Regions from separate parts of the Homo sapiens genome. Here regions 1, 2, 4, 5, 6 and 7 are each linked to region 3. The links are contacts of gene promoters, found by promoter capture Hi-C in blood cells and fetal thymus (Javierre and others, 2016). All regions are on one chromosome and are shown on one strand. The core of a region is centred on a gene start or on the middle of the fragment in contact, and the rest is flanking DNA. Distances in the headings are between cores, read along the strand shown.

Region 1 (2,918 bases), core at 340-2,839, 400 kb after region 3:
GTACATAGAGATAATAATACTTTTATCAAAAAAGCATGTCTTTTTTTTCCTTCTGATTGATGAGATGCTTTCTGTATTTTTTCTGGATTTAAACATAGTTTCCAAAGTTAAAATATTAATAGTACTTTTCCCTGTCCCATTGGGTTGTTTAGAAATGTAATGTGATATATGACATTTTGGCCTCTCTGAGATGTCTTGTTCCAGCCCAAAGATTATTAGGGAACCTCATGTCATTTGAAAGGGGAGAAAGATAATTTATTGATAAGGTTCTGCATGTCATATGTATCATTTTTTTCTCATCAAAAACACTGAGTAGAACTCTATTATGATACTTGGTCCTTTACTTCATACTTTTCTATCTTCCCAGCTAGTCAGAACCATGCCCACCCCGCAGTTCCCACCCCTTGGTCAGTACCTAGCATTATGCCCAGAAAAACTACAGATGCTTCTTCACACTCCCCTCCAACCCCCACACCCCCATTACCAAAGTGTTTCTATAATGCTCTGGGAATCAGCATCTCAATTCCCCCATGGCCTCATGGTTAAACATACCATTCATTCGACCTCTCAACTGTGACAAAGAAGGAAGCCTGGGTGTAGAAACTGATTTCAGCTCCCCTCTGAAGTTGGGCGTCTCTCTTTGCTGACCACTTGGGAATTTTTTTTTCTTGCTTCTGACCCACCTCTCCCCTTTCTTTTGATAAACAGGACAGCTGTCCCCAAAGGGATGAATCCATTACCTTTCACCAGAGTTGAGTTCGTTTTCCATTTCATCTTTCTGCTTAAAGAGAAAGCCCTTTAAAAGCGCAGCGCATACATTGAGTGCGTGTACTTAATTTTTAATATGTGTGTGCCCACAGCCAAGAGAACAGAGAACCTTAAATAATAATGAAACTGAATTGTACATGTCGTATGTTTTATGTGGCACTGATTCCTAAATATGCTCCTAGCAGCCAGGTATTATTTAATACATCCCCATTAATCAAGCTGCCAAATCTAAATGAAAACCATGTTTAAATATGTTTAATAAGATTATAGCTTTTGGTTGAATATCAAACTAACATAGCTACATTTTTCCTTCCAGCCAGCTCTCATTTACTGTCTTACATTTTTACTCTGAAAGCTTTTGTACTATCAAACCAATCTTGATTATAAAACAAATTATACCACAAACTTTTAGTATCGTGAGCTTCAGCTGAGTCCCTCAGTGTAAATGTTAGGAGAAAGAACAGTTCTGAGATTTTTTTTCTGGCTAAAAAATGATATTTTTCTTCTTCTTGGGGTGAGCCTTTGAGTTTAAAAGGAAATTAAAAATTCAATTAGAGATACTAAATTGTTTGTAGCTTCTGTATTAAATGATGTCTGCCTTTTGCATAGTTATTGAAAGTGTTTCATATTAAATGTACTTTTTCTTTTTGACGGTTCAGGCTTCTGTTAGTTTTGCAATAGTGACACCTAGGGGCTGTAGAGAACATTGCATGGGCTGCTAAAATCTCAAAAACAACCCCTCTGCTCTTTTGCCATGGATAGAAAAAGTATTTGTGGGTCATTGGGGCTGATGGAGAAAGAAGGCAAATGGTACCCTGGGCGAGGTAGGTTTCCAGTTCTATTTACCAGGCTTCCAATATGCAAACAAAAAAAGGAGGTAAATAAAAAGAGGTTTTTATAAAAATAAAGAACTAGCTGAACTTGGAGTAACATACAGTATTCTAGCAGATTTTTAAAGTTATTGATAAAACAACATCATATTTATTAACATGTTTAATTCTCGTTCTTATTTGCAACAGTTTGCCTGCTGTTCTTGCCTTTGTAACAGGCATGTCCCGCGTTGATTGCAGAGAAGTGATGACTGTATGTGGTGCTTTGACTTGTTCTGTGCGAATGTCTCGCTTCTCACATCTCTAATTCTTCTATTTGCCTTGTTCAATATTCTATATCCATATTCACCCTTATAAAGTTGTCATTGAGACTTTTAGCCTATTTGTTCTCTCCACTGATATCATTATTTCTTCTAGCTTCTCAGAGCCCTTACATTTTCTCCATGTTTATATGGCTTGAAGCTTTTAAATTCTTGATCAAAGCAATCATAAATGTGTCTGTTACAAACACATTAAAATTCTTCGATTATATAAAAACTGACAAACAAGTCTTATAAAACTGTTTTTGTACTACATTAAGTTCAAAATAGGTGGCACATGTTTAACTTTGTACACTGTAGGAATTCTAAGAATCATTTCAAAAAGAAAAAGCAAATACAGTGCACAGCAATGCATATAATTCTTATAGATGAGTATTATCTATCTGTCATATCTCTCTGTAAATAATGATGGTGACAATGATGATAGGCAAAGTTTATTGATGTTTTTTATATGCCAAGCACTGTTCTAACCACTTTGCATGAATTAACTCAGTCACCATGGGACAGGAACTGTTATTATCCCAATTTTTACCCACATTCACAGAATGCTTCTGTGTTCCAACAAGGAAACTTCAACAAAGTAGTGCATGAGCTTATCACAGGTCGTGTGCAATAAGAGTTTATGTTATTAGTTTTTCCTTGAACTGCTTGGGAGTCAGTGTCACTTTTCTTAGCCCCATTAGCCTGCCCTCCCTTTGGAGTGTGCACGTCTCCTTTACTGTCTGATACCTGTCTGCTTTCCTCACTGAGTGCCTCTAGCTTTGTCTAGCAACACCTGCCCTCATAGAACTTACATTCAGTTGGGAAGATCCTAAGAAACAGCAATCACAACAAGTAATATTGATTTCAGGTAACAAGAAATGTTACAAAAGAAAGCAAAGTGATATCAGGGAGCAAAAATGGAATGACAGACTGGGTGTGAAGGGCTGGCTTTGTGAGCAGGAGAGAGGCCCTCCTGAGGAAGGGATGTTCGTGGTGAGTCCCAAATGACAGAAAGGAC
Region 2 (3,341 bases), core at 453-2,952, 420 kb after region 3:
AAAAACTGAGGTTCAGAGAGGTTATCCCCAAAAAGACATGACCTGTGATTGAGTGTGGCATGCATCACCCTTAAATAAACCAAAATATTTTAAGTTCAAGTCCCCACTATTGAGAGATCGACAATTTACTCCCATGTAGTAGAATGCCTTTATATAACTTTCTTGTTAAAGTCAAGGTCAGAGCAAAGTGGTGTGATTTCCTCCTCATTGGTAAAAATCTCTGTAAGAGGTGAGTGTTCTCGTGCCTTTGTTAGCATGCCAGCAATGAGCCTGGGGTCTCTCCTCTGATTACTGGGGATTTCATCATCATTCAGGATACCTTCTCTCATTATGTGGGACTGAAAATAGAGATAGAAAAGGCAACAGGTAAGGGGCTCATAGTGAACTCACCCAATGCATGCTTTGCAAGTTATTTTGTTTTTTAAGCAAGTCCCAGTCATGATCTTGCTTTCGGATTCATGCCTTATGCCTGTAGCCATTGAAAGCCAAGTATGTCAGGGGGAAAAAAAGGTCCTTCAGTTAGCTGAGGTTTTATTCTGTTTCTACTTTGGTGGTTTGAAACTAATTACAGACTCGGTTGTGCCTACATGTGCAAAATGAAATGAGAGGTTGAGCCAATTACTTTAATAATGAAGAGAGGAAAATCCACTTTTCTTTCCATTATCTAAAGATTTCAGGCATATGTGAGTTTTATATATGTATATATTAAATTATGTGAAAAATTGGCCTCAAGCCTTCATTTCACTTTGCCTGTCTAGAAACAGACTCAAATTTTGTTTCGGAAAGGAGATGACATGCCTTAGGCATCTTCCAGGAGACTAGAGGGTCTTGTTGTAACAATTGCAGCTAAGATTGATTTTCTTATTGTTATGATGAATACTTGTGCCTGCCTGGGGGAGGGAGGTATATTATGAAGGATGACTTTTAAAAAAAGGCTGGAATACCTAGAATAAACTTTAGGAGGAAGTTTCCACTCATATTATTTATTCATTCATTTATTTAGTTCTTTTCAGGACCTGCAAAGCCCTCCTGGCCTGGTGCTCACTCCCTTTCTAATTTCATCTCCTTCTGCCACTTGCCCAAACTGCCCCAGCAGGTCTGGCTTCGTTGCTCTCTTTCCATTCACTGAGCACACTTCCAACTCAGGGCTTTCAAGCTTACAGTTCCCTCCGTGTGGAATCATCTTTCCGTTGATTTTTTCATTGTTCACTCCCTCATTCCCTTGGATCTCTGCTCAAATGTCATTTTATCAGAGAGATGCCATTCCTAGTCACCCTATACAAACTGCCTGCTCCACGCCTACCATTCTCTGTCCCCCTTGCCCTACTTGATGTTTTTTTCTCCCTAGTACTTACCACCATCTGTGTGATATATGTGCATGAACTTATGTGTTATTTTGATAAACATGACCATATATTTTATTTTAATAAACTTTATTTTTAGAAGAGTTTTATATTTACAGAAAAATTGTGAAGATGATACAGAGAGTTTTTCTTTTCTTTCCTTTGTTTTTTTTTTTTTTTTTTTGAGACGGAGTCTTGCTCTGTTGCCTAGGCTGGATTGCAGTGGCACAGTCTTGGCTCACTGCAGCCTCCACCTCCTAGGTTCAAGCAATTCTCCTGCCTCCGCCTCCCAAGCAACTGGGAGTACAGGCGTGCACCACCACACCCGGCTAATTTTGTATTTTTCGTAGAGACAGGGTTTCACCATGTTGGTCAGGCTGGTCTCGAACTCCTGACCTCAAGTGATCCACCTGCCTTGGCTTCCCAAAGTGCTGGGATTACAGGCATAAGCCACCACACCCAGCAGATACAGAGAGTTTTTCTAAACCACATACTTAGTTACCTTTATTATTAACATCTTACATTAGTATGGTGCGTTCGTTACAATTAATGAACCAGTATTGATACATTATTATTATTTTATTTTATTTGTTCACCAGTTTGGAATGCAATGTATTTTTAAACAGAGTGAAAGACACCTGACAGGTAACTGAACAAGTTAGCATTAGCTGGGCCCAAGATTAACCAACTTGTATCAACATTCACAGACTTCTGCAGATTCCCTGAGGACAGCAATATCCAATAGTGTTTACTTGTTTTGTGAGCACAGTAATAGAAGCAAAGCGAGACCTTTGTTAATTAAAGCACATATTTTATGCAGATTTCCTTAGATTTTACCTAACATCCCTTTTCTATTCTAGCATCCCTTCCAGGACACCACGTTACATTTAGTCATCATGTCTCCTTAAGCTTTTCTGGCTTTTGATGACCTTGACATTTTTGAGGAGTACTGGTCAGATACTTTGTAGTATGTCCTTCAGTTGAGATTTGTCTAATTTTTTTTTTTTTCATGATTGGAGTTTTGGTCTTTTGGGAGAAAACAGAAGACTGACAAAGTACCATTCTCATCATATCATATCAAGGATACTTACTATCAGTGTAACTTATCGCTATTGATGTTGGCCTTGGTCACCTAAGGTAGTGTTTGTCAGGCTTCTCCACTATAAAATTACTCTTTCTCCTTCCTTTTTACACTGTACTCTTTGGAAAGAAGTCACTAAACACATCTCAAACTTAAGGAGTGAGTGAGAAGTAAGTTACGATCTACCTCCTCGTGGGAGGAATATCTACATAAATTTGGAATTATGCTGTTTGGGAGATTTGTCTCTTCTCATTTATTTATTCACTCATTCATCTGATAACTCATACATATTTATATTTTTGGTTATAATCCAGTACTACTTTGTTTTGTTACTCAGTTGTTCCAGTTGTAGCCATTGGCAACTCCTCAGTTGGCTCCTATGACCCTTTGACATAATCCCGTAATTGTGTGTCTTGTGAGGTTTTAAAAAATTATTATATTCTTACTTTCTGGCACTACAAGGCACTTTAGGCTAATTGTGCATATTTCCTGCTCCAGTTCTGGAATCAGCCATTTCTCCAAAGAGTCTGATTCTTTTTTTTGTTTTGTTTTGTTTTGTCTGTGTGACGGAGTCTTGCTCTCACCCAGGCTAGAGTGCAGTGGCACGATCTTGGCTCACTGCAAGCTCCACCTCCCAGGTTCATGCCATTCTCCTGCCTCAGCCTCCCGAGTAGCTGGGACTACAGGCACCCGCCACCATGCCCGGCTAATTTTTTTGTATTTTTAGTAGAGACGGGGTTTCACCATGTTAGCCAGGATGGTCTCAATCTCCTGACCTCGTGATCCACCCACCTCGGCCTCCCAAAGTGCTGGGATTACAGACATGAGCCACTGTGCCTGGCCAGAGTCTGCTTCTTGTTACTGGAGACTGGTGGTTAGACACCAAGATTTGGGCACTAAGTGTGCTCATTGCTCTT
Region 3 (2,964 bases), core at 262-2,761:
GCTAAGTAACAGATTCCAACGAGTCTATAGCTAGGTCTTTGGGTATGTTGCTGGTAATGAAAAGGTGAACAATCATGGTGCAGAAGAAAGAAAATGAGCCAAACCAGGATCCCTGGTAGAGTTGTAGTGCAAAGACTGGGGTTAATTGTGTGGCCTCAGCCTCACTGGGCTGTTCTCCTCACCTGTAAGACCAAGATAAGAGCACTTATTTACTTCGGGGTTGTTGTGAAGATAGCAGACAATCTTAGTGCACCTGCCACTTAAGATCCGTTCAGTGAAATTATTACCTTTCACAGGTGTGTCTTTGGAAAATCACTTCCCTTTCCTGGATCTCAGTTTTCTTTTCTAGGAAAACAACATGTTTGGACTCAGCGACTGCTAAACTGTCTCCCAAACCTCGAACTCCCTCAGCCTGGGATCCTGCCTTTTATGAAAATAGTTCGGATTGGAGCTCAGGTTGGAATTCTCGCTTTAGTTGCTTGCTAGCTGTGTGTCCCAGTAAAAGCTAAAAATTTCGGATTCCCCACATCTGTAGAATAGGGATACATAACATGCAGCTTATTAGAAAGGGAAGGCATGTGAGAATTAAATTAGGTCCGTGTCCAGTACCCACTAAATTGTAAAAACTTCTCAAAGGCAGGGACCCATCTGTTTTGTAGATTTACAGAATGTCATACGTTGAAGTACGGGGGTTCGCCACGGGATTAGAAAATTTCTGTAGAGTAAGGAACAAGACACAAGGTAAGCATTCAAGAATTGTAACCATGCAATATTCTTATTTCTTACAGTCGCCTACAACAGTCCTGGTGTTTAGTAAACGGTCTGACACACACACCCATCAGGGGCTGCGGAGAGTCCGCCTGGGTAAGCTCCGCAAGGTGAGTCCCCAGAGCCGGGAACTCGCAGCCTGAGCAGACGCAGCGTAGCCGATCTTGGGTCCGCGCTCCTCCCGCCTTGCCCAGCCCTGCCCGCGGTTGGCTAGGCCCCAGGGAACGCTGCAGCCGCGGGGTGGGCAGGCGACGGCCAATCCCACGCCCGGTTCAAAGGGCCAATCAGGCCGCGCTTTACAGGGGCCGCGCTTTACAGGGGCCGCGCTTTACAGGGGCCGCGCTTTACAGGGGCCGCGCTTTACAGGGGCCGCGCTTTACAGGGGCCGCGCTTTACAGGGGCCGCGCTTTACAGGGGCCGCGCCGGCGGGGGCGGGATCGCGCGCAAGGCGGGGCTGTAGCCGCCCCGGGACCGCCCTGCTCAGGCGCCGTGGGGTTCGGCGCGGCTACGTGCAGAATCCGTCTAGCTAAAATGTAATTTCAGATTGGACAAGTACTGTAAGTGACCCTCCTCTCAGTCCCACGTGGGCGCTGGGGGCTTTTGCTGGTGCGCAGGCTCTTAGCGCGCACGCCCAGAAAGAGGCTTCTCCAACCCGGCCCGGCCCTTCCTTCCCCTTTCCCGCAGTCGTTGCCTCCTCCTCCCCTGCCTCCTCCTCCCCTTCCTCCTCCTGGCCGCTTAGTCTCACACCCGCCGGGCCGTTGTTCCCGAGACGTTGTTGAGTCCCCTGTGTCCTCTTCTGGGTGAGGCGTCCGGCCACTTAAGGGAAGGGAAGGGAAGGGTCGGCCTTGACTGCATCCCCAAGGCTGCCTATTAGGTGTCTGGAACCCGTGCTGCTTCCTCTCCGATCAGTGCCCACTTATCTGTATTCAGTACTCTTTCTCTCCTCCCCTTACCCTTGTAGGACATTTTCCTGGCATTTGAGGAGCCTTTAATTCACGTCTGGCTACCGAAGGCATTTTTAGGCTAGTGTTGCTTGTAGATTTAAACGCTTCCAGCACTTGTGATAATGTTTGAGGCACAGCTGAGTTTAGATGAGATAATGCTGTTTGGTTACAGTTATCCTGAGTAGAAAGGCCTAGGGATATCTTTTCATTTTTAGCCGTTTCCTTTTTATTTAAAGATTGACAAGGGGCCGGGCGCGGTGGCTCACGCCTGTAATCCCAGCACTTTGGGAGGCCAAGGCGGGTGGATCACGAGGTCAGGAGATCGAGACCATCCAGGCTAACACGGTGAAACCCCCGTCTCTACTAAAAATACAAAAAATTAGCCGGGCGTGGTGGCGGGCGCCTGCAGTCCCAGCTTCTCGGGAGGCTGAGGCAGGAGAATAGCGTGAACCCAGGAGGCGGAGCTTGCAGTGAGCTGAGATCGTGCCACTGCACTCCAGCCTGGGGGACAGAGCGTCTCAGAAAAAAAAAAAAAAAATTGACAAGGTGCAAAATGGTGAATTTCCCTCATCATGGGCTGTTTTCCACTAAAGCACTTCTGTGTCTTAACACAAATTTCTTCCCCGAAGAGTCAGTCATGACATGACCAAAGTCTGAAAAGCAGTTAATCCTTAGGTTAAATTTTAAAGTATGAGACCAGGAGGGGTGAGGTGCTTATTCTTTTGACTTGTAAATCAGAATGAAAGAAGGGAAAGTCTTTTATTTTGTGGCTGTTATTTAAATGGTAGAGTTTTGCTTTGTATAGTTTTTGCTTGCTTTTCCTCTTTTTTTTCTATGATCCACCACGTGTATGTCCTGATTTTTTTCCTTTTTAACTTGCTTGCTGGATTTTCCAGCCAGATGACTGCCGCTTGGTCTTCTGGGAGTCTCCTGTTAATGGGGCCCTCATGCTTGGCTCTTGACCTGATGGCCACTGGCCTGGCTCTTGGAGGACCTCCTAGTGGGAGGCCCAGAGCACTGTTATTAAGGATGATTGGGGGAACAGATCAGAGGGGGTCAGCTGGGCCTGGAGATCAATTTTGAGGGGGAGGGAGGTTGGGAGCCTGCCTGGCTGGATTTGGAAGTCAAAACATGTGTGCTGGGAGAAGGGCATAACCCCAGAGGGTGGAGAGCCATGTCTTTCTGGATAAAATTAATAAGTTTACTGGGAGGAGGCTGGGCCTTCCAGGCTGTGTTAGTTTTTGTTGTGGGC
Region 4 (3,220 bases), core at 537-3,036, 440 kb before region 3:
ATGCAATCCATATGTTTGATTATTCATACTTCCATCATCAAAAAATATTGTTGATCCTTTGAGGAGCTTTTGATGTTCTAGAAACCATTTTTTTTTTTTTTTAGGGCAAGGGAGAAGAGAGACTTTTTTTTTTTTTTTTAAAGCATCCTTCCTTTTCCTACTATTTTGTTTCCCTTGAAAAAACATTTTTTGGCATTTGAGTGGGAGATGAACAAGTAGTCACTAGAATAGTCCATTTTTTTCCCCTTTAGGTTTTTAATATAGTGATATGTACAGAAATGCAGTTCTCAACTTTAGGGTTCTCTGATATGGTGGGGAGGGGAGTTAATATTTATGGAATTCTTACCTTGCAGTCACTTTATCTACATCTTCTTAGGTGGTGTTTCTAATACACAGGAAAGAGGTGTCATTGGCTCCATTGTATAGAAGAGGAGAGTGAGGCTCAAAGTCTGGAGAGTTGTACTGCTGGGACACAAACCCAACTTTGCCTGGCCCTGAAGCTGTGGTGTTCATACGTTTCAGCTCCTTCAAGAGAATACAAGGGTGTTTACCATCCTGTGAAGACATTACCTAATTGTATTCAATCACGACCCCTACATCCCTAGCCAGCACCTATGCCACTCCCTTGTAGGAGCTCTTGCTCACCTTTACAGGAAGTGGGAGCTAAGGGTTAGTTCATGCAGCTTAAATGCCACCTCCTCGAGGAGGCTTTCTCAGCCTTCTGCCTAAAAAAGCCCTTCACCTATGCTCCATCACTTAAATCTACTGTAAATGGCAATGTAGCACTTTTCACAAGATGATATTTTTCTCGTTTATCTATTTTTTTCTGTTTATTATCTATCTCCACTCCTTTCTTCTTCCCCCTAGAAGTAGCAGAAATCCCTGACATATAGAAGCCACTTAAGAAATATTTGTTGAAGAAAAGCCTGTCTTATCCATCACTGTATTCTTAGGCTCTGAAACAGACTAGGTATTTAACAATAATACTATCCAATATTTACTGAGCACTTACCATGTACCAAGCATTCTTTGAAGGATTTTACACGTATTTTCTCATATTAACTGCCTCTGAGGTAGTTACAGTTATTATTCCCATTTTACAAATGGGGAAACTGAGGTACAGAAAGGCCAAGATCCTACAGCAAGCAAGAAGTAGAGCTGAGTTTCAAATTCAGACACTCATGACCCCAGGGCTGGGCTCTGAATTACAATTCTAAGTGTTTGATGAATCAGTGAGGGATTGAGAGAACTATAGCTAAGTAGAATATGGAGTTTTGAAGGCATGGAAGAAGCAAGGTGCTAAGTATAGAGGAGATAATTCATCGCAGCTGAAAGAATTTAACTTTTTGGAGAAGTTGACAGTCTTAGGATGGGTAGGATATCAACATGTGCATTTCGGAATTCAGAGTTAGAACAGTGGCTAGGATAGAGAAAGGACAGGTTATGCACAGAAAAGGGAGGGAGGGAGGAAGGAGTGGGAAATGAGGCTGGAAAGGGAGGAGGAGGGCAGAAAGTGGAGGACTTTGAATGTCAGGCCAACAGATGTGGCCTTGATGGTGTGCAGGTAGTGTGCCATGAGGGGTTTCCACACAGAGAAATGCCATGATCAGAACCTCTTGCTTTAGGTGGTTTTGAGCCCTGCATTTATGCTGCATCTACTGTAGTTTGGATGGTGTCTCAATCTTCTCATTTCATCTGCACAGTAATCCCACAAGGTCCAGATTACTATTCCCGTTTTACAGATGACACTGTGGATGTTCAGAGAGTTGAATTTTCCCAAGTATCAGCTATTAACTATTAGAAGTAGGACTTTAATTCCCCTATGCCCGTGCCATTTCCACCACCAGGTAAACACTTCCACAACCCCAGGGAGAAAGGAATGATGCCACTGTACCCATCTCACCTTCCCGAGGGAAAGGAAGATAATTCCCTGGTCGCTTCTCCTTCTCAACCTAGAAGGCTGTTTCCAGGGGAGAGAGTTTCTGATGTGGTGGGAGGAGCCAGAGGATGGGGTAGTTAGGAGTGGGCTGGGGCGTTGGTGGAGAGAGAGCCTTGTAGAGGAGGGGAGGGCTGGAAGAGAGACAGCAAATTGTTTCGGGATGGAATTTTCCAGACAGGGCCTCAGTCAGAGAACAAATGTGCCTTCTGAATTTTCGCTATAATTGTTATTGACCTTTAGTGAAATGATCAAAATTACTGTGCTGTACCCCTCCACCCCTACCCCTTTTTCACAAAATTGTTTTCCCTGACTTTTCAAAAATGAAGTTTGGCAAGCCTAAGCCCTGACAGCCAGCCGACTGTGGGAAAACAATGCACCTCCTTATGGCCCCAAATGGAGCATTTGCAATTAATCCATTGATCTCAGTAGAAAACCCTATTGTATCAGGGCCCGCCAGGAGAAAGCTGTATCCTGCCCCTCTCCCGCCCTGCACAGAACGTTCATTGAAGTCAGCCCCCAAATTGATGGCAGGATGTGGCCCTAAAAGCCTCCAAATTAAAGGGGCCCAGAAAATAATGTAGGCTGGGTGGCGGAAGCTGGGATGGGGATTGGGGAGGTAGGAGAGAATGGGGGAGGGGAAAGGGTTTCCTTTTGAATCTGTGCAGGAGCAGAGGAGCAGGCATGTCTTTGTCCACGGGGTTGCAAACTATGAGGTGTTTCTGGTCATCCTTACTCTGCTTTCCTTAGTTTGTTCTGAGGTTTCAGACCCTTAGCTATCTAGTTTGCTGATTGGGCCTCTGTTGCTCCTACCACTGATAAAATGGACAATAATGATACTGGGATCTATAGAGCATTGTTTGGATACCACTCCCTCTGTATCACCTAATTTACTTCTCCAACAGCTTTGTGGTAAAAGTCATGGAGATTATGAGGGCTATCTCCTGTTGAGTGGGTCCTGCCTGCCAGGTCCTGCTTTACATATTCTTTTTCATTTAACTCTTCAAATCCTGGAAGTAAACCGAGCTGGGTTATGGTATAGTTTGGCCAGTTGAACAGGAACTCAATCTACCAGGGTTCAAATGGGATTAAGTATCACTGGAAATAGGAGACATATTTTAAGAGCTCTGAGACAGAACAATGTACGTGGCTGGAAGAAGGTTAGATAAACTGTCTGAGGGGAGGAATAAGCCTGCAAGTGGCTAAACTATCTTCCATGGAGGGTGGATTGAGATGATCACAGGACTCGTTTTTGCTGAGCCACATGGAGCGCTTAGGTGGGAT
Region 5 (3,201 bases), core at 311-2,810, 460 kb before region 3:
TTTTCCCCACTCTTCTTTCTATCCTGAAAAACTTCATCCACCCCACTTTTTGCTTCCCTCCCTTTTATCTGTTGGAAGAGATTTTACTTTTTGTAGAAAGGATGCCAGTAGAATCTCTTTCAGGACAAGCCGAAGTAGCAAATAAACTGTCCAGGAAAACAATGTGCTTTGAAATAGGAGACGGGAGTTGGGAGAGAAAGATTTGGCCAAAGAAGGGCAAGTAGTCTGGAATGTGTAAAACAGCATGAGAGAAGGAATAAGAGAAAGGGTGTTAAGGCCGGGGAAGGCTCTTGGGCCTTCATGGTGAAGGGCCCAGTTGCCAAATCCCAATGCACTGTGTACTAACCTCCCCTGGGGCACATGGGTGTTTCTTGCTGATTCTCTTTATAGGGGACAAAATGTGAGCATTGCTCCTATAAGTGAAAGAGAAACAAAGGGGAAGAAGACTTTATCTACCAACTAGTATGTCCCAGGTACTGTTGGGCATCTTTATTATATGCGCAATCACATACACAAATTTGAAAGAAGATATTATTATCCTCATTATACAAATGAAGAGGCAGAGAAATAAAGAGATGCAGTGATTGCCCAAGATGTTAACTAGTGGCTGGTCAAAGTTAGATTTGAATTCAGGTCTGTCTCGCATTATAACGGTGGTTTCCAACTTTCCATCTTTTTTTTTACAGCTCTGCTGATGAAAGACAAAACTTTCCTAGCTCCCTCCTTCTCACTTCCTACCTCTTCTCAACACCATTGGAGTTTTCTGCACCAAATGCACCCAACATTTCCTTCCAGAACACCCTCTCCTTGCTACAACAAGTCAAGATTTTAGCATCTCTTTTACATTAAATATACATATTATTTTGACCTGAACAAAGCCCAAACTTTGTGATAGCCTCTATTTTTTATTACTTCTCAGGAATATTTATAGCAAGTGTTACTGTACTATGAAGATGTGCTTCTTAAAAGGGCATAGTTACCTACAGTAGAAAGGTATGAGAATCTTATGAGCCCAAGTAGCCCAACAGCCTCTCTCTTAGTGCTTATAGCCATGATCTATTAGCAGAAAAATAAGAGAACCTAAATTCTAGGTTCTCATTATAGAGAGAAAAATAGGAAAACCTAGATTCTAGTCCAGGCTCTTCCATTTGCTAGCTGTGTGACCTAAGTCCCTTTACTTCTTTGAACCTCAGTTAGATTATCTGTAAAATGAACGAATTACACTTTCTTTGCTCACCTCAGAAAACTATATTGAGTGATCACCTTGAGTGAAGTAATAAACCATAAATCAGAAATTATAAGACAAATGAAGGATGTTAACTTTAAATCAATCCTTTGTGGAAAAAAGGGCATAAATAAAATATGAGATATTATTTTTATTTCTTGGTAGTAAGTTCAAGTATAAACATAAAGTCAACCTAGCTTAAGCCAAAAAGGAGACATTATTTGCTCAGATAAATTGTGAGAAGGGTAGGGGTGGATCGGAATTGGCCAGATCCGAGTCTCCAGCACTTACGGGGCACCATCCCTGCCTGTTACCTCTGCCTTCCTGCATATTGGAATTGTTCTCTTCTCTTCATGAGTTCCTTACATGGGATGAGCATGTGATTGCCAAAGCTCCAGGCTTGCCTTCCAGCTTTTGTAGTGTCTTTTTTAATTTGTAAAATATAACTTATGTATGGAATACATAGAATAGTGTATAATAATATATGTAAAGTTTAGGCTTCCATTTTTACAGCTTGCGATCAGAGAGAGAAGAAATTTTCTTCCTACAGCTCGGGGTAGAAAAGTCCCATGGAAATCCTTTGATTGGCCTGGCTTGGGACATGTGCATGCCTTAAATAGATCTCCCTGGCTAAGAGTGGGTATTACCATTGACCCACCTTGGGTCTCAGGTCCACCTACTGTGGCCAAGGGGTGGAGAAAGGACAGACAAGGCCAGGCCCATTTGTATTCATAGCCAACAATGGAATTTAAACAATAAAATATATGTGATGGGGATGCTTCTGTAGGCTTCTGTTTCTTCCAGGATGCTCCAGCTCTGGAGATGCAGGCCTGCCTGGGTGTGTAATGGGGGACCTTGCACTGCTTACACTTGGGAAATCTTGCCAGGTTTTGCTCAGTTGAAGTTTGGCTAGGCATAATATCTAGAATAAGCACCTACTTACATTGTCAGACTTAGTACAGAGAATGCAGTAAAATGAATTGGCTCATGGGTGATCTCTGATCCAGACCCGATACTTCTTACTGCAGCAGGGGAGGCAGAAACTGAGTAAGCATCTGTGCTACAAAAGAGAAGTATGAGCATCCAGCAGCACATAACAGAGGCCCAAGAATGCACTGATATCATCTCAGTGAAGTGTTATGGTTGGGGGAAGGCCTTTTAGGTAGAGGGATTAGCATGCGCAACAGTCTGGGGTTGGAAAGAGCATGCTGGGGGAAGTAAAAGAGGGCCAGTGTGTCCTCATATAGAGAACTAGGGGTAGAAGGGAGGCAGGGTCCAGATTAGGCATCTCAAGGAATATTCAAATGCCAGGCCCACAATGTATGCTTACCAGTGCCCTCTCTCCATCTTTGGCCAGAATGGGCCTGTGACCATTACAGGAGTTCTGTGGCCCAGCTCCTGACCCCACCATATCCTGTCATGATGTTGTCATCCTCTTTAATAGCAAAATTTAGCAATGGAAGGAGCTTCAGCAGTTGGGAAACAGTTGCAAGGATATTTCCCCCTTTCAAAAGAGCTAAGTCCTGCTGCTAATAATAATTATTATTAATGCTAATCATCACATTAGATACCTCTCTTGCCACAGAGCACGTCAAACCTTCAAAGCTCCCAGGAGCAATAATTACCCCTCCCTGATCCCCTATGAAACAGGTAAGTAGGGGTCTGAGTACGGGATAAGGAGCCACAAAGTCTTCAAAATTAGACTTTTTCTCTTTGTGGAGCAGAAAAAGAAAGGTACACTACAAAGCACCCCCCACCCCCAGCTCCTGACTGTAAAAGTGGAGGCAGGAAGGGTAGGGAGGGAATTGTGGCTTCACAGGTGTGTTGAGAAGCCTAATTAGAAGGTTCAACGTGCACTTTCATGAGGAAAAGGGCTGCTGAGTGCCTATTCTCCAGACTTCAAATGCCCCTTTTGGCAGACAGCATCAGGGGCAAGGCAGCCAGTGCTGAGACAGAGGGGATGGGGACCACAAACT
Region 6 (3,211 bases), core at 527-3,026, 380 kb after region 3:
GGAGATGTTCTCACAATTAAATATCTTGCCCTTCCTGCGGCAAATTATAATAGTTAAAACAGGGGGGATGCTTACTAAGGTTCTGCAGAGGTTACCCTGTGTTGTGAACTGAATATTTGTATTCCTGCAAAATTTGCCCTGACCCTCAATGTGATGGTATATGGAGGTGGGTCTTTGGGAGCTAATTAGGGTTAGATGAAATCATGAGGGCAGGAGCCTAGTCTGATGGGTTATGATGGTCTGATGGGCCCTTATACAAAGACACCAGAGAGCTGGCTTGTTCTCTCTGCCATGTGAGGACACAGCAAGAAGTCCATTTCTATAGGCCAAAAGAGGGCTCCCACGAGACCCTGACATTGCTGGCACCCTGATCTCAGACTTTGAGCCTCCAGAACTGTGAGAACATAGATTTCTGTTGTTTACCCAGTCTATGGCATTTTGTTATAGTAGCCTGAGATAAGACACCTCATTTAATCTTGACAGTCATCCTGCTTGCAGGATGCGTGTTTTTATCCTTCTGTGATAGGAAGCCAAGCTTCAGAGATGTTTTAAGTAATTTGTCCAAGGCTACACAGAAAGGGCAGAAGCAGAATTGAAATGAAGGTCTCTCTGGGTCTATATCTTATCCTGTCATTCTTTTTCTAATTTGTTCGATTTGTTTTTTCTTTAAAAATATTTTCTGGCTTCTTAAGTGTTCAGTGGTGTATTTTCTGAAAAGAAATGCCATAGGTCACAAATCAGGAGATAGTCTGTAGCTCAAACAGAGAATAGCCTTTCAAGATGAGGCTGCTATACTAGATACATCATACCATGACTCATGGCTTCATTGATATCTTATTCAAAACTGGGATCTCCAGCTCCAAAGGAATTCCACTCACATCTTCCCCTAATGGGAAACTGAGCTTAATTCCACACTGACATCTTGACTACATGAGATTTGCTGTTAGTCTTCTGTAACAGAATCTAAGATATAGTAGATCAGATTTGGAACTGATGACTTGAGTAGCAGCTGCAAGGCTCACAGCATTGTAAAGACAAGCTCATGTCTCCTATTCAACCCAAGGATGTGTGTGCCTGTCCTGATCGTTTTCAGGAGACACAATCTAGTAAAGGGAGCCACCAGCTGAGAGAGTCCTGAGGTCTTATCTGTCATCACTTACCTGACAGACTCCCCATAGTCTGGAGCTCTGTGCTTGCTTTACTGTCCTCAGACGATGTCACTTGTTCTCTCTGGGTGCTTGTTTTATTTGTCTGTTTTATGTATTTTTTTTAATGTTTAAATAAGAATTGCCACCCATATGGGACTATCGAGATAAAGAGCCTTTGAAAGTTCCAGTGACCTCTCAGGTGTAATCAATATCATTAGAATGATAAAATATTTGGAACTGCTTTGGAAATGAAAATGCATGTAGACTTGGCGTCATTTGCTCCCCTCCAAAGAAGAGGGGCCAACCTTTGTGCCCCAGGTCTGAGGACCAGCTTCAGATTCTGGCAAGGTGAGGCAAAATTGAATTGCTTTCTTTCTGTGATTCATATTTTCAACCTGAACTTCAACACAGTCTTTTCTTTGAACTTCAGGGACCCTGGCTTGGTTTGCAGGGTACCTGCCTTCCCCTCCTTAAGAAAGTTGAGCAATTCCTGCCAGCACCTCAACTATTCCAGCAAGTCAGATGTTTTATCTTCTCATGGACCACACATCTGGTGGTTAGATGGAGGATTTCACTTCTTATCTAGATAGGCCAATTTTGGTAGACTCAACCAGAGTCACCTCCTTCAGATGCTGGGAAGGCTGGGAAGAATCCAGAGGACCCAGACAGTAGAGGTAGGAAAAACTTTTATGTGCTTGAGGAGACAGGGTTTTCATAGGCCCCTGAATGGATGATTTTCAGCCGGGGGTAGAGTCCTATACCTTTCTTGGGTGATACCAATGGATCCACAGCTGTAGATTTTACTTGTAGCTTTTGTAGACTCTGTGTATCTCAATTCTGGGAGAATTTTATCAGGGGAAGGGAGACTGGATGGAATATTCTGGTGGGCCCTTAATGAAAGATTGGCCAACAACAAGATCTATTGATATTGCAAATTTTGAAACATGCTGACAATTCCTAGCTTCCTTCTTTTGTTCTTTTATCCATTCAGATTCTCCTTCTCTTAGTTTGTCTCTGTCTCTCTTCCCTTGTCCTTTCCTGCTCTCTCTCTCCCTTTAGACATCTAAAGTCTTCTTACTATTTCTTTGTCAAATTCGGATCTCACAAAGGATACTGACATAGCCATTCGTTCATTCTAAAGAATACAATGACTAATACTATCTTAAAGAGTTGCCCCTCTTTAGAAAGGGTGTTTTCCTTTTAGTAGTTTTCAAAACTGTGTCTTTACTAAAGAGAACAGTCTCCTTGTGGACAAGTATTCTTGAAGGCAAATCATGATCAGCTTTATATCTGCGGTTTAATGAAAAATATGGAATCAAGCCACAGATATGCTGCTCTCACAGTAAAAATTTAGCTATTGAATAAGTGGGAGGGGACACAAAGAAGGCAGTTCACTTCCCCTCCCTTTACTCTTAGGAATGTGGAATCCCTGCAGTCTTGACCTCTGTGACCTTTCTACTTGATCCCTCCCCCATCATCAGTAGAGTACAAAATGATCCTCTGTAATTCTGAATATCTTGGAAAACAAATAATTATAATTAGAAGCTGAGAGTGTTCCATAACACTTCTCTAGGCTCCCAGGTCCTGGAAAATCAATAAACTGGAAAAAAACTAAGTTTATGAAATATCACTATGCTTACACTTTCTAAGCACAGACAGTTAAAAGATTCTAAGAAATACAAGGACAAATAAATAAAACAAGAAGCAGTTTCAAGTCGTTGTGAGAGAAAACTCAATCAAATGGCAAAGAGACAGCAACATGAAATGGCTCTCCACTTTCTGTTTCCTTCAGGCCCCCTGCAGATGTCATTAGCTTTCTGTAATTTCTTATCTTCAGGGGCAGTTTTTATTCAAGTCTATTTAGACAAAACAAGCTTTAATTCCAGCAGTGCTATTTGTCTTGAACCACCACCCCCCACCCTTGAAAAAAAGGAGTGGAGGAAGCATCTGAAGCAAAAATCAGTAAAAGGAGACAGTGACAAGAGATCAAAATGCATTCAGCAGTCATTTTAAGGGGAGTACCAGTGTAAAGAAAATAAGCCCTTGGAATCAGCCAATTAATC
Region 7 (2,956 bases), core at 167-2,666, 440 kb after region 3:
TTCGATTTTGCAGGCTCATAGGCAGAAGGGACTTACCTTTGTCTCAGAGGTGACGCTGGACTGTGGACTTTTGAGTTAATGCCAAAACGAGTTAAGACTTTGAGGGACTTTTGGGAAGGCATGATTAGTTTTGAAATGTGAGGACATGTGATTTGGGAGGGGCCAGGGGCAGAATGATATGGTTTGACTGTGTTCCCACCCACATCTCACCTTGAATTCCTCCATGTCGTGGGAGGGACCCAGTGGGAAGTAATTGAATCATGGGGGCGAGAGCAAACTGAGGACCAGAGTGGTTATAAAACTTGTCTGAATTCATACCATTTACAAAGTAAAAGAAGAGTCTAGAGCCCAGGTCTCCTGAGTCCTCAGAATCAACCAAGTCAAATAAGCTCCCCTATTCAAAAAGAAGAACCTTCAAGAATATTAATTTTGTGCCCATCTAAAAGCCTCACTGAGCTGTGCTAAAGGTAATAGGCATTGAAGAAAACGTTCTCACAGAAACTCCCAGCTGCAAACACAAAGAAGCAGCTCTCCAGGGAACAGGGTAAGGATTGTCTGAAGAGATCTATGCTGGTGAGATTACAAAAATCATAATATATGAATAAATGAACATATGGAAGGAATCAGCAAAGCCCTCTCATTCTTCCCGTATGTAAACTCGGCCTTTGCCTAAAGTCATTAAGTAAACACAGATGCAGCCAAACCAGGCACCAGATGGCAAACAAGAATTGGAATAAAAGGTAAAGAAAGCTTTTGGTGTTTACTCAAAGATGGGGAAAAAAACCATGATCCAAAATGCTGTGGTTTCCCCAGAATGGCCACCTGGAGTCACCAGGGCCCAAAAGTGACCAAATAAAACAAAACAAAACTAGAATAATCATGATTGGGAAGTTGTAGGAAAACCGCTGCTATCTTCTGTGAATGGAATCCCATGTCAGAAGAAACTGGTTATTCTGGGAAATGAAATAAATGGTTAAATCAAAGTACTAGGACCAGAGAGCAACAGGAATGTGGCAAGAATCCACTTTTGCTGGGCACTCACATCTGTCCAGAGCTTTGTATTCTTGGCCTTATATAATCCTCACAATTACCCATTAGGTATTGGCCAAATTTTATAAATGAGGAAATTCCATAAATGGGTTGAGAGAGATTAGGCCCCAAGGTCACACCACAGGAATGCCATCCTAGCTGTGGCCAGTGCTTCTTTGTCCATTCCCAGCTTCGTAGCTCTGATTTCAGTACCAGATACAGGGGAATCCAGGCACATTCTCTCTGCCTTTCCTGCCCAAACCACTGGACCTAAGTAAGAAGGTCACCTGGTCAGGTACTGCCTTGAAGGGAGACCAGAACAGACATGGAGTGGGGAACAGAGCATTCCTGAAAACTTAACTTCACCTTTATTTCACAAAAGACACCCTTGCACATGCCTCATCCACCTCTTAGCTTGTACATTTGCCATGAGCACCAGTAATGAAGGCAGTCCTTGTGAATATTTGCTTTTCAGTATGCATGAGTTTATATATTGGGGGTAGAAAATTCCAATAATGTTTCAGCTTCAACTAAAAGCTGTATCTTGTTCTGTCCTTGCCTCTAACCTGACAGATTATTTTTTAATTGCTTGGTAGAGATAAGTTTGGCTTCTGCAAATAAACTAGCAAACATTTCCTGCCCAGGCTACCAAACACAGCCTCACCTCACCTATCTGGCCATATGTAAAAACGTTCATTCAAATAAGTTTTGTTCTTTTGAGTTTTACTCTCCCAAGCGCAGAAACTGGGTAGTGAGGGGTGCAGGGGTATGGGGAGAATGGTTTCAACCAAACCATTCATTGCTTGCAGGTGGGAAGGTAAGGTGGAAAATGCTTTCCAGCTAAACAGACCTGTCTGATAACCCTACCACTAACTAAACTTGCTCTCTTGGGCAGGCCACATTATGCTTTGAGTTTTAGTTTCTTTCTCTCTAAAATGTACGTGGAAGGGCTGTTTTCAGAATTTTTTTTTCACTTTCCTCTTACCCATCTTCTCTTTTTCTACATGGTCAATCTCCACGTGGCTGTTTTATTTTTTCCCCATTGTTCTTTAGCAAAGCTTAATCCAGGATGAATTCAGCTTTGTGGACACTATAAATCAAAGCCATACAACCATAAGGCAGGCTTCTACCACTCTATACTAATTGTTACCAGTCTCTTAGCCCTGGTTTCTGGTTGGGTTTGGCCAATGGGCAGCCCCAGCAGGAACCTGGAGAATAATGAAGTTGTTTATTCCCCCAGCGCTCTCCTTGCTGGGTTGACGCAGGTTAGCTACATCCATCTACCATCCTTCTACAATGGACCACAGTTCCTGTGTGTGGCCCTTTCCCTACAATTTTGTGCATGATGGGAACCTCTCCTCCCTCCCTGTCCTCCTTCAGGCTAAGAGGTTGTAATGGCTCCTTACTGTTGGTAATCATTAGGTACTTGTTTCTTTACCTAAACCTTTTTAAACAACTCTTCTTGAAGCTTACTTCAGTTACCCAATGTGAGTGTCAATCTCTTTCCTAATAGGAACCTGAATAAATATATCACTTCAGCTCAATTTCCCATTTTCTACAATGACTATTATCAAACTTTGCCAATTTCCATCCCTGTCTTTCCTCTCATGTTCAGAGAGATGACCTCCTGTTTATTCTTAGCCACCAACTACCTCTAAGAGAAAAGCCATTAGAAAGACAACTGCCATTAAATCTCCCAGCTTTCTTAGATCCGGTAGTGAGCTGGGGCTAGCTCAGCCCTGCTCGCAAGAGCATATTGTGCACATCTCTTCCCAGCTTCACATCCATTCCATCACATTCAGAGCTTGAAACTGGCCAAGATGGAAGTATTTACAACACAGAAATTGGCAATTGATAAAATTAGGGCTTTCTATTGATTATTTATCAGTATTATTTATCAACACACCACTGCTTATATCCAGATACA

The links. Contacts are between HindIII fragments. The CHiCAGO score rates a contact against its expected background, and 5 or more counts as called.
Region 1: a contact is called between a fragment that was not itself captured here and the fragment with the promoter of FGGY in region 3, in 17 of 17 cell types (M2 macrophages, M0 macrophages, M1 macrophages and 14 more). The highest score is 83.1, in M2 macrophages.
Region 2: a contact is called between a fragment that was not itself captured here and the fragment with the promoter of FGGY in region 3, in 6 of 17 cell types (M2 macrophages, M1 macrophages, M0 macrophages and 3 more). The highest score is 20.2, in M2 macrophages.
Region 4: a fragment that was not itself captured here is called in contact with the fragment with the promoter of FGGY in region 3 in 10 of 17 cell types (M0 macrophages, M2 macrophages, naive CD8 T cells and 7 more); the score reaches 17.7 in M0 macrophages.
Region 5: a fragment that was not itself captured here is called in contact with the fragment with the promoter of FGGY in region 3 in 16 of 17 cell types (M2 macrophages, M0 macrophages, total B cells and 13 more); the score reaches 20.9 in M2 macrophages.
Region 6: a fragment that was not itself captured here is called in contact with the fragment with the promoter of FGGY in region 3 in 13 of 17 cell types (M2 macrophages, M0 macrophages, M1 macrophages and 10 more); the score reaches 32.5 in M2 macrophages.
Region 7: a contact is called between a fragment that was not itself captured here and the fragment with the promoter of FGGY in region 3, in 5 of 17 cell types (M2 macrophages, M1 macrophages, M0 macrophages and 2 more). The highest score is 18.1, in M2 macrophages.

The regions. Positions count from the first base shown.
Region 1 is chr1:59,697,977-59,700,894 of GRCh38, forward strand. The region is part of intron 14 of FGGY (FGGY carbohydrate kinase domain containing); the gene reads left to right. Among named protein-coding and RNA genes, the nearest start is that of MIR4711, 34 kb to the right of the region's middle. The HindIII fragment of the contact is 937 bases long and covers 1,122-2,058 here.
Region 2 is chr1:59,719,830-59,723,170 of GRCh38, forward strand. All of the region lies in intron 14 of FGGY (FGGY carbohydrate kinase domain containing), which reads left to right. Among named protein-coding and RNA genes, the nearest start is that of MIR4711, 12 kb to the right of the region's middle. The HindIII fragment of the contact is 1,096 bases long and covers 1,155-2,250 here.
Region 3 is chr1:59,295,583-59,298,546 of GRCh38, forward strand. It overlaps FGGY (FGGY carbohydrate kinase domain containing), which reads left to right and starts at 1,512. Exons shown (of 16, transcript NM_018291.5): 1 at 1,512-1,568. It overlaps FGGY-DT (FGGY divergent transcript), which reads right to left and starts at 968. Exons shown (of 2, transcript XR_001738089.2): 1 at 787-968; 2 at 1-182. RefSeq lists silencers at 914-1,453, 1,464-1,553. The HindIII fragment of the contact is 6,368 bases long and covers 1-2,964 here.
Region 4 is chr1:58,850,878-58,854,097 of GRCh38, forward strand. The region is part of intron 1 of JUN-DT (JUN divergent transcript); the gene reads left to right. LOC107984961 (a long non-coding RNA gene) reads right to left here. Exons shown (of 2, transcript XR_001738081.2): 2 at 82-525. Among named protein-coding and RNA genes, the nearest start is that of LINC02777, 52 kb to the right of the region's middle. The HindIII fragment of the contact is 4,275 bases long and covers 1-3,220 here.
Region 5 is chr1:58,830,734-58,833,934 of GRCh38, forward strand. The region is part of intron 1 of JUN-DT (JUN divergent transcript); the gene reads left to right. Among named protein-coding and RNA genes, the nearest start is that of JUN-DT, 47 kb to the left of the region's middle. The HindIII fragment of the contact is 8,972 bases long and covers 1-3,201 here.
Region 6 is chr1:59,675,697-59,678,907 of GRCh38, forward strand. The region is part of intron 14 of FGGY (FGGY carbohydrate kinase domain containing); the gene reads left to right. Among named protein-coding and RNA genes, the nearest start is that of MIR4711, 56 kb to the right of the region's middle. The HindIII fragment of the contact is 2,487 bases long and covers 534-3,020 here.
Region 7 is chr1:59,737,688-59,740,643 of GRCh38, forward strand. The region is part of intron 14 of FGGY (FGGY carbohydrate kinase domain containing); the gene reads left to right. Among named protein-coding and RNA genes, the nearest start is that of MIR4711, 5.9 kb to the left of the region's middle. The HindIII fragment of the contact is 1,337 bases long and covers 749-2,085 here.